Linked DNA regions of Homo sapiens: region 2 is linked to region 1. The links are contacts of gene promoters, found by promoter capture Hi-C in human tissues and cell types (Jung and others, 2019). All regions are on one chromosome and are shown on one strand. The core of a region is centred on a gene start or on the middle of the fragment in contact, and the rest is flanking DNA. Distances in the headings are between cores, read along the strand shown.

Region 1 (5,863 bases), core at 1,744-4,243:
CCCGTCTCAAACACACACACACACACACAACAAAAAATTGGTTTTGTCCTGGTACCTGGTTATTATAATTTGAAGCAGAAATTATTTTGTTTAGATTTTTTAATATTAAGAAGCATCTCCGTCGGGCGAGGTGGCTCACACCTCTAATCCCAGCACTTTAGGAGGCTGAGGTGGGCAGATCACCTGAGGTCGGGAGTTCAAGAACAGTCTGACAAACATGGAGAAACCCCGACTCTACTAAAAACACAAAATTAGCTGGGCATGGCGGCGCATGCCTGTGATCCCAGCTACTCAGGAGAGTGAGACACGAGAGTCACTTGAACCCAGGAGGCCAAGGTTGTGGTGAGCCGAGATCGCGCCATTGCACTCCAGCCTGGGCAACAAGAGCAAAACTGTCTCAAAAATAAAAAGTAAAAAAAAAAAAAGCATCTCTACTCACCATTAACTATACAATTAAGAGGTCACACCTTTGTTTCATCATCGTAGACAAGGTAAATATTACTAAAGAAAATGCCTGTCCATAAAAGGGATCTGGTGACAGAGGACAGCCTCTCCCAGAGTAACAGGCATCCAGGACTCCACTCTATCAACGATTTCTAAAACAATGGGTGTGAGCAAGGGCTAGGATGAGATGTGTGATTAAGTTCCTGAGCTGACGGCAAATTTAAAAGATGCCCTCTCAGCTCCTGGCTGCGGCCCATCCTCCCTGTAAGGTGCACGACTCCATGACGCTTTTCACTGACGGCACTACCTCTTGGCCATTACCACCTCCCACCAGATCCCATTCGCTCTGTTTTACCAGGGAAAGGTCTGCTCCAGTTAATGCCTTATCCTTCACAGTGATGTTCTTTGACTTTATAAAAACGGAGCCATTTGGTCAACAGGCTGCCCGTCGGATCCCGTGTCCTTCTGCACTGCTAATATCTAGCTGTGGCCCTGCTTTAAAACCCAAATGCAAACATCTCTTCCATGAAGCCCTTCCTGATTGCCAGTGCCCTCAACAGTGGAATAAGCTGCCAGGCATCTTAGAGATCTAGACCCGTGGTTCTCAACCCCCACTTCCCCAGGCCTCCTGAGAAGCTTTTAATAGGTGCATCAGCCCTGGATTCTTACCGGCAGGACTGAGAGGGAGCCTTAACGCTTGTGTTCTTCTAATAGTGTGCACAGGGTTGACGGGAAACACACACACACACAGTGCAGAACCATTCCACGAAGCTGTGTATCCGGAATTGGTTCCCTCTGAAGAGTTCCTGGTCCCGGTCCTGCCGCGGACCTTCACGGCATTATAGTTCTTAAACATGGTGTGTCCGGAGTTTGTTCCTTCAAATGTTCAGGTGTGTCCGAAGTTTTTTCTTTCTAGAGAGTTCGTGGTCTATGCACGACTTGATGAGTGAGGCCGCGGACCTTCGCAGGGAGTGTTACAGCTCTTAAAGGTGGCGCATCCGCGTTGTTCCTTCCTCCCAGCGGGTTCGTAGTTTCGCCGACCTCAGGAGTGAAGCCACAGACCTTCGCAGGGAGTGTTACACCTCTTAAAAGTGGTGCGTCTGGAGTTGTTTGCTCCTCCCTGTGGGTTCGTGGTGTCGCTGACTTCAGGAGTGAAGCCACAGACCTTCACAGTGAGTGTTATGGCTCTTAAAGGTGGCGGCTCCAGAGTTGTTTCTTGTGGTGGCTTCCTGGTCTCGCTGGTTTACAGGAGTGAACCTGCAGACCTTCACTGTGAGTGTTAAAGCTCATAAAGGTAGTGTGGACCTAAAAGGTGAGCAACAGCAAAATTTATTGCAAAGAGCGAAACAACAAAACCCCAACACCATCGAAGGGGACCCAAACGCAGCTGCCGCTGGCTCGGATGGCCAGCTTTTATTCCCTCATTGGCCCCGCCCACATCCTCCTGATTGGTCCTGCCCACATCCTCCTGATTGGTCCATTTTACAGAGCGCTGATTGGTCCATTTTACAGAGTGCTGATTGGTCCATTTTACAGAGTGCTGATTGGTCCGTTTTTACAGAGTGCTGATTGATGTGTTTACAAACCTTTAGCTAGACATAGAGCATTGATTGGTGCATTTACAATCCTTTGGCTAGAGAGAAAAGTTCTCCAAGTCCCCACCAATTAGCTGGACACAGAGCACTGATTGGTGCATTTTTACAGAGTGCTGATTGGTGTGTTTACAAACCTTTAGCTAGACACAGAGTGCAGATTGATGCTTTTACAATCCTTTAGCTAGACAGAAAAGTTCTCCAAGTCCCCATCCGACCCAGAAGCCCAGCGGGTTTCACCTCTCAGTAGCTTACAGAAGAGGACCCTGCTGCCACAGCACAATACCACAAAGAAAGTCATGCTCTCCTCAGCAGGTAGCCCCCTTCTCCGGGACAGGAACTTTGTTTCCTTCTTAGCTCTATCGCCAGCACCTAGAACAGTGCCCACCTGTCAGATCTGTTATCAGATGGGAACATGGCAGATTTGTTGAATGAATGAAGGAATGAATGAACTATGTGACACTCAAACTTAGCCACCAAACTTAAACTAAAAAAACTGGGTTGTGGTCCCTGATGGACCGTTGGCACCTTCTTCCTTTGCTGGACGGTGATCCGTGGCTGTTTCTGCGGTGTGTTCGCAGTGGTTGCCTGGCTTGGTAACAAACACTCTTCGGAGCCACAGCCTGTTCTCAGGGTCCTCGCCGCCTCCCAGGCCCTGCGATCTCTTTGCATCTCAGGAGGTCCAGGTTGGTTGCAGTCCTCTTGGGTGACTCAGGAACCAGCCTCTCCTGAAGCACACAGCTTAGGGAGTTCCTGAGGCCAGAGACATCTCCACGGGAAAGTCAAAGGCCTGGAGGAAGTGCGGACCTGACGACAGATGCCCCGCACGCTGGCCGGGACCGGGAAGGGCGGTCAAGGGTGGAAAGGGGCTGGCGGCTGCCAGGCCTGGCGGAGTGGAGCGGGGCGGGGCGCAGCGGGGCGGGGCGGGCCTGGAGCTGCACCTGCTTCTGGGCGGACGCACTTGGCGCGCGGCGCGGGCTGCAGACGGCTGCGAGGCGCTGGGCACAGGTCAGACGTCCGTACCCGCAGGGGGCTCGAACCTGGAGGAGGGCTCGAAGGGAGAGGGGGCCCCGCCAAGGAGCGGGGCTGTGATGGAGAGGAGGTTCCGACTCGCAGGGGACCTGCGGGGGAGGGGACGCGGACAGGGAGGGGCTCTGGGACAGGGGTGAAGGCTGCGCTAGGGGAGGACGGGAGGGGATGGAGGGCCCTGGTGTCGCGGAAGCCCAGCTGGGGCCCCCTCCGGGCTGCGGAACCGGTGCGCACACTACTCCCACCGCCCCCGAGTGCCTCTGTCCGGCTGGCCGCGGCCCTGGAACGAATATTGCTCAGTCCCCCGCGAGTCAGGTCTGCCGCGTTGCCCGGTGAGGGGAAGGTGTGAAGCCCCGGGCCTCCGTCTGCCCGGTGAGTCCGGGGACGCGCGCCCCCGGGGATGCCATCTGGCTCCTGGGCTGTGACCAGTCACAGCTCACATAGCTCTGGGCACTGGTACCGACTGCCTTTCCTTGTTAGCTGCGATACACAAATACACGAGCCAGATCCTTTCCTGAGGCCAGGAAGCCTGGAATCTAATAACACCGGGCGGTGGATAAAGTCCCCCGAGCCAGTGCTTAGCTTCCGTTAATGGAGCCATGGATGGAAGCGGATGTCAGGCGCAGTGGGGGAGAAATTTGCGGGGGTGGCCCTGTCTAGGGCCAGAGAAACAACCTCTGAAGCTTTGATCCAGCCCTAGAGGGAAGAAAGATGTGAGTTTCAGCCAGGGAAACGTAGCACTTTAAGAAATAGAAACCCTTTCAAAATTTGAGGGCAGGTAGCTCTCCTAAAAGTTGCAGAAATGGCCACTTCTTTTTTTTTTTTTTTTTTTTTTTGAGACGGAGTCTCGCTCTGTCGCCCAGGCTGGAGTGCAGTGGCGCAATCTCGGATCACTGCAAGCTCCACCTCCCGGGTTCACACCATTCTCCTGCCTCAGCCTCCCGAGTAGCTAGGACTACTGGCGCCCGCCACCACGCCCGGCTAATTTTTTGTATTTTTTTTTTTTTTGGTAGAGACGGGGTTTCACCGTGTTAGCCAGGATGGTCTCGATCTCCTGACCTCATGATCCACCCGCCTCAGCCTCCCAAAGTGCTGGGATTACAGGCGTGAACCACCGCGCCCAGCTAGAAATGGCCACTTCTTTCACGTTCTCTTCGACCGCTTTCTGCGGTGTCTGCCCTTTTCCTCCTCCTGCACCTTTTTGTCTCCTAGGGTCGCATAGCCTTCCAAACAGGCCTGCCTACAGCATTTTACCTGCAATTTTACACTCATTTTAATAGAAAGGATGGCTTATTGTTCATGAGAGACGTGTACTGTTTTTAACCAGATGTGTAATATCTTCAGTATAACCTGGATGTTGTGCAGTGGGAAGTTATGGAAAGAATCAGGACACGTGGTTAGGTAGGGGCCCAGGGGCGTCAGACTTAGCTCTTTGTGACAGTGAGCTTCTTGGTTTAATAAGGATATTGGCTCCCTCTGTTCCTGGGGTTTCTGGGAAAAGATATGGAACTGATATGAAGGTTTTATTGAATATGGCCCACTGATTTTACAAGTGGAGGTGACTGAGATAAGCAGAAGGTGAGGCATGACCTCTGGCTGTGCATTATTTGTTCTGATATTACAGGAGCCAAGCATTCCATTTCCTTCTTTTTAAAGAGCTTTGATTTCCTCTCACATCTTCATGAAGATGGAAACAGTGCCCCCACTTACTTATCCTCAGGCCACACCTGTTCCCATTTATTCCATGAGTTCCTCCCACACCCTTCTGGTTGATGTTGGTTGTGATGGTCGAGGTAATTGAATCTCACATTTGGCACCAGTTATTTCTGTTTCTCATCTCCCCCCTACCTGCAGTTAAACATCAGCTGCTATACTTAACTGTTCAAAGTACAGATGTTACCTGTGTTGGGTGTAATCAAAAGATTATCTCTTTTCCTCAAATGAAAAATGGGTGAGGACAGTTTCACCACACATAGAGTCACTCCCCTAGCCAAAGTCCTTGCTATTGCAAAACTTTTTACTGTAAGAGAATTAAAGTCACTAGTGTGTCATCAACTAATGGTACTTATAGACACATTCCATATTTGTTTCTATAGAAAGATCATAAGACAAACACTAGATTATTCCCAGTATGAGACCATACTGAATATGAACAATTAGAGGCCACAGGTGAGTGCTGTCCTCCTCACACTTTCTTTGAACTCTTAAGCTTCTACTCTTTTAACCAGCTACCCCTCTCCCCAAAACCTTCACTGAGGCTAGAAACAAACACAAATAGACTATTTGAATTTTAGCAAATTTTATCTCTCTTTTCTATTCTCTTGTGTAAAACTTAAATGGCCACAAGCTACACTACTGGAGGAAAAAGGAAAGCTAAAAGGTCTATCAGCCTTCTGTATGTGATGCAGAGTTCAACTGAATATAGCAAGGTACACACCCGCATTCTCCTTGCCAGGACTTAGATATCATAAGCCATTATCTTGCTGGTTGTTGAAATCATAATGGGGCTTTATAGAGCACAAGGCGATGTTTGTAAACAGCACTGTTCAGGTCAGATTAGAATCCGTATTTCAAAAATGAGGAGATGGAAACAGAGATATTGTGTATGTGGTCCAGGGTTAGCCAGTAATTAAATGGCAGAGCCAGAACTCAAACCAACATTCCTTCCAGAATACCACAGCTGCCTCTGGAGTGGTTTTTGTTGTTCTTGTTGAATTTTGTGATGGAAGATTGTGATTTGTTTTTCCCGAACACTTAATATGTTTTCTGACTTGAATTATCAGAATCTAAATTTAGAA
Region 2 (5,863 bases), core at 976-3,475, 250 kb after region 1:
AGTGCAGTGGCGTGATCACAGCTCACTGCAACCTCCACCTCCCTGGTTCAAGCAATTCCCCTGCCTCAGCTGCCCAAGTAGCTAGGATTACAGGTGTACACCACCACGCCTGGCTAATTTTTTTTGTATTTTTAGTAGGGACAGGGTTTCACCATGTTGGCCAGACCTGTCTCGAACTCCTGACCTCAGGCAATCCACCTGCCTCGGCCTCCCAAAATGCTGGGATTACAGGTGTGAGCCACTGCACCCGGCAACAAGGTTTTATTTGTTTATTTATTTATTTATTGTTGTGACAGATTCTTGTCTGTCACCCAGGCATCATCGTGCCACTGCAGCCTTGAACTCCTAGACTCAAGGGATCCTCCCACCTCAGCCTCCCAAATAGCTGAGACTACGAGTGTGCACCACTGTGCCTGGCTGTTATTTTTATTTTTAGTAGAGACGGGTCTTGCTTTGCTGCCCAGGCTAAGTTATTGTTGATAAGATCAAGAAAGACAAAAGAAAAGTGAAAGATTACTCCCTCCGTTATAAACGTAACATATATCCATTATAGGAATATTTTTTAAAGAATAAAACAATCACTTATAATCCTATTATCCAGAAAAAAATATGTTGGTTCATTTTCTTTCAGTCGACTTTAAATGCATAAGAGAAATTTTTCCACATATGCAATTCCTACTATGACTTCTGAAATTTTAACACATCTTATAAGCATTTTTCCATAATTTATTCTCATTTGGATTATTTTCCTAGGATGGATTCCTAGAAATGAAATAAGTGAGTTTTACATGGTTCTTTTAAATATGAAAGGAAATGATGGACACAAAACAAATTTGAAAATTCAAAAGCGTCATACAAATATGAGCTTCTCTTTCCCTAAACTTGCACTGCAACCATAAATAACCAACCAGAACTACCTACTGTCCTGTACCAAGCCCTTATTATATGCTGTATGCTGAGCTAAACATGTAAGCATTTTATCCATTATTCCACTTAGTCTTTCTAAGATGCCTGCTAAAAAGCTGATGATATCCCATAGCTGTCAAGTTAAAGGACAAAATCATTGTCCCTTAGGAATCCTCTTCTCTCTCGTCATTCTTATATGGCATCATGCTACTTCCATGTTAATACCCACACAGATGCCTTTGCCTGGCTGAGCACCTGTTCGCCACAGCCACCTTCTTTGTCCAGGTGGCTCCCACCTTTCCAAACTCAGTTAAAGCATGTTTTCCTTTGAGAAGTTTTCCCTGTTATCCTAACACTTTTAAATGCTGAACTAAGAGCCTTTACTAAATTGAGATTAGGAAGCACAAGCAAAGTATATTGAACATAGTAGGTGCCAAATAAATATTGAATTAATTTTTTTTTAAGAGACAGGGTCTGCTGTGTTGCCCAGGCTGGCCTCAAATCCTCAAATTCCTAAGCTCATGCGATCCTCTCACTCCAGCCTCCTGTGTAGCTGAGGCTACAGGAGTGCTACCACATCTGACTCTTTAATGAATTATTATTACATGAACTTGGTGTAGATATCTCATCAGGAAATGTTGGTTACATTATTAATAAAATACACATTGTCCAGAAAAAGAATGAATTTTCTGGGTAGTTTGTGTTTAGTATGTGAAATATTGTGTTCAGTTTTGGATTCTATACTTTTAGAGGCTGATTGGTAAATTGGAATGTATACAGAGATCTAAGGATGGTAAGAATGGAAACAGTATTACAAGTAAAATGGTTAAAGAAGTGAATCTGTTTATTAAAGAAAAGACTTTGTATGGCCAGGCTTGGTGGCTCACGCCTATAAATCTCAGCACTTTGGGAGGCCGAGGTGGGCAGATCACTTGAGGTCAGGAGTTCAAGACCAACCCGTCCAACATGGCGAAACCCCATCTCTACTAAAAATACAAAAATTAGCCAGGTGTGGTGGCGCGTGGCTATAATCTCAGCTACTCAGGAGGCTGCGGCACAAGAATCACTTGAACCCGGGAGGCAGAGGTTGTAGTGAGCCCAGATCACACCACTGCACTCTAGCCTGGGCAACAGAGCAAGACTCTGTCAAAAAGAAAGAAAGAGAGGAAGGAAGGAAGGAAGGAAGGAAAGAAGGAAGGAAGGAAGGAAGGAAGGAAGGAAGGAAGGAAGGAAGAAGGGGAAGGGGAAGGAAAGGGAAAGGGAAGGGGAAGGGGAAGGAAGGAAAGAAAGGAAAGAAAGAAAAGACTTTGCGGGTGATAGTGGGGGTGTGCAGAATGGGGTATGACAGCCACCTTTAATTATGTGATGAAGATTAGTTCAATAAAAAGACAAAATGTCCAGCCAATGGAGCTGTGAACTTCTCTGTCCTTCTATTGTAGTAAATGACTTCCACACCAGGCAGAAAGATGACACAAATACCTTCAAACTCTGATGTGGGGCATGTCAAGAAAGCAGTTTTACATCAGCTTTTCTGAAAAGCAAGTACCATGTAAAAATCACCAACGATAAGAACTTTTAGTATAAGCAGCTCCCAGCGCTGAGGTTTTTTTCACCATTATTTTGTATTTTCTGCACTGAAGGCAGAAGAAATTATTCAAAGAAGGACCAAACAAGAATACCAAACAACGTAGCATTACTACAGGTAGATGAGAAAATAGCCACAACACAGAGGGAGAACAAACCGACTGAAGTACAGGGAATGAGATGGTTTCTTTCAAATAAGGGTTAAGGGCTGGGCGGTGCGGTGGCTCACACCTGTAATTCCAGCACTTTGGGAGGCTGAGATGGGCAGATTGCCTGAGCTCAGGAGTTTGAGACCAGCTCGGGTAACATGGTGAAACCCCATCTCTACAAAAATATAAAAAATCAGCCAGGCATGATGGCAGGCGCCTGTAATCTCAGCTACTCGGGAGGCTGGGGAAGGAGAACTGCTTGAACCCGGGAGGCTTGCGGCGAGCCGAGATCGCGCCACTGCACTCCAGCCTGGGCAACAAAGAAAAACTCTGTCTCAAAAAACAAAAAACAAATAAGACTTAGGAACAATAATAAATGAAGGAAGCTAACTAGGCAGGGCTATATATGAGGACAGTTCCTGCAGGAGGGATTTGCAGCCAGAGGTGGTTTTTCTGCAGAGCTAATGCAGAGCAAGCTTCCAGGCCACTCTTTTGCCCCAGTTTCTTCCGAGGCTGTGGTAGGACCCCAAGCAATCTCGTACTGTTTCTCTTCAAGAGAGCACCTGACTTATGTAAGTTTTAGGACTTGCAAAACCTGTTTTCAAGCCTGTAAACCAGTTTACCACCAAAACAAAACTTAGTATACGCATAAGGTGTTTAAAGATTTTTTTGTAGCATTTAATTTTAGACATGCCCACATACCCGGATTGTAATCAGTTAAATTAATATTGTCTTTGAAAACAAAACATACTCTAGGACCAGATTCTTTTCCATATCAAGGCCCTGCTTTGGCATCGAATCTGGGGACCCTGTATTGATTTTAAATACTTGATATTTTTGTCTACTTGACTTATTTGATAAAAGCAGACCCTTAGTCTAGATCAGTAGGAGGTAGAAGAAAGGCTTTATAAACGATTTAAATCTTAATTACCTATTAATGTGGTAAACGTGTGTATTATATAAGGTTAAACCTGTTCTGCCTCAAGCAACTGCATTGCTTCCCTCTGAGAAGTGATTCCACCTGCTCAGCATCAGCGGCAAACAGAACACAGAAGCACCCTAAAGAGCTGGGTGTGATGGTACGCGCCTGTAATCCCAGCTACTCAGGAGACTGAAGCGGGAGGATCCCTGAAGTCCAAGGAGTTCGAGGCTGTATTGTGTCATGATCATGCCAGTGATAGCCACAGCACTCCAGCCTGGGCAACATAGTGAGACCTCATCTCTAATAAGTTAAAAAAAAAAAAAAGCGCTGGTGTGGTGGCTTACACCTGTAATCCTAGCACTTTGGGAGGCCGAGGCCAGTGGATCACTTGAGCCCAGGAGTTTGAGACCAGCCTGGGCAACATGGCAAAATCCCTTCTCTACAAAAAATATAAAAATTAGCAGGCTATGGTGGCACATGCCTGTAGTCCCAGCTACCTGGGAGACTGAAGTGGGAAGATCACCTTAGCCTGCTAAAATAGAGGCTGCAGTGAGCCATGATTGTGCCACTGCACTCCAGCCTGGGTAACAGAGTGAGACCCTGTCTCAAAAACAAAACAAAACAAAACAAAACAAAACAAAACAAAACAAAACAAAACAAAAGGGAAGAAAAAAAAAATTCAACCTGAGGCTGATTTTTTTTAAGTGTTCTAAGTAGTAGAGAAAGATGCAACAGCTAAATACATTTTTATAAGGACTCTTCTGTTTATTATTAAGCATGTGACTTTACAGACTATCACACAGCCTGAAAATGTAAGGAAAAGGAATGACAAGCCATTGAAACATTTTTATGCATCCATTGAGGGCTGTATCAGACTAATATTTTCCGATATTTGGTAGGGAGTTGGTTAGCATGATGTGATCAGGAGACCATATATTTCTAAGTCAGTAAAACCAGGATTCAGTTTCCTTCTCTGCTAGTACTGGTTTTGGCTATTGACAAGTTATTTAACCTCTTTGAGCCTCAGTTTTCTCATCTGTAAAATGGGTTTAATACACATTTTACAAATCTCAACTGGGTCTCTTTCATTTTCAATTTTTTCCCTTCCACCACTGCCTCCTTATCAGTGACAAACAGGAACAACAACCAAGTTCTCCACCCATACCCTACAAGAGCTACTCTCCTAGTTTTTGCTCTTTCAACGGGGAACTTCTGGGAAGAGACAAGACTGTACTTGTTAGCTCTCCTTCCTCCAAGCCACTTAAACCTTTACATCCTGCAAATAGCTTTTACTCCCTCAAATAAATGACCAGTGACAAAGTTCAATGATCTCCAAGTTCAGTGGTTCTTTCTTAGTCCTCATCCTATTTGGCCTTTTCTAGTTTTCGACTCTATGCTGTGGTGACAAATACTGTTTGAACAGAACAGTAATATATCCTTCTGGTTTCTTTCTACCTCTCCTGTTGCATTGCCTATTGGCTAGCTCATACATTTAACTAATAGCCTTTTGGAAGGTAACTTCCAAAATTCTAATTCTGGCATTTCACATCTTCACCTTCCTCTCATTCCCATAATCTTCTTGTTTTCCCTATTTCTGCCAATGGCATCATCATCACCATATTCTCCCAGGCCCATGTTCAGAGGTTAAAGTTCTCTTTGTCCCTCCTTCCTTCTCCTTGACTCTATGCCACTGACTCCCCCACCCAGTGACTGGCCAAGACCATAGACTTTACCTTTTACGACCATCTCCTTTCTAATTCCGCTCCATCTCCCTTAGTTCTGCCCACATTTTCTCTTTCCCCAAGATCACAGTGGGCTCCTAGCTGCCTCCTGGACTCCAGGCTCTGCCGCATCCCTCAGGTAGCTCTCACACTCGTTTTTTGCCTAAAAGCCAACTCTAATTATGTTCTTGTCCAAAGGTTTCTATGGCTCCTCAGTATCTTTGCTGTAAATCCACCAACCATCCTGCCTTAATTACGGATTACAAACCCTGGGCTCCAATTAAGTGAAATATGACTGGCATATTCTCTTCCATCATGTTTTTCCAGTGCTATGCCTTTGCTTGCATTGTTCCTTCCATGCTTCTTGTCCTCTCCTGACACTGCATGAACACATCCTGTATAGATTCCCAGGAAACCTCAGATAGCGTCTTCTCTGTGATCCTCTCCTGGTGTCCTCACACAGCTGTAACCAACTTCCTCTGCTCTTCTTAAAAAACTTCCCTTCTCTTAAGCCATTTGTGACTTTCCACCTATTGCTATGGTTATGCGCACCCAGGTTTCAGCTTCTCTGACAGACTGTA

The links. The method cuts DNA at HindIII sites, captures the fragments that hold promoters and counts their contacts. A contact is called where the count stands out against the background at its distance.
Region 2: a fragment that was not itself captured here is called in contact with the fragment with the promoter of TMEM45B in region 1 in 1 of the 25 tissues and cell types used here (H1 embryonic stem cells).

What each region holds. Positions count from the first base shown.
Region 1 is chr11:129,812,855-129,818,717 of GRCh38, forward strand. It overlaps TMEM45B (transmembrane protein 45B), which reads left to right and starts at 2,994. Exons shown (of 6, transcript NM_138788.5): 1 at 2,994-3,044. LOC124902793 (a long non-coding RNA gene) reads right to left here and starts at 1,833. Exons shown (of 2, transcript XR_007062952.1): 1 at 1,114-1,833. The HindIII fragment of the contact is 7,942 bases long and covers 1-4,511 here.
Region 2 is chr11:130,059,010-130,064,872 of GRCh38, forward strand. No RefSeq gene overlaps it. Among named protein-coding and RNA genes, the nearest start is that of APLP2, 8.0 kb to the right of the region's middle. The HindIII fragment of the contact is 6,224 bases long and covers 1-5,337 here.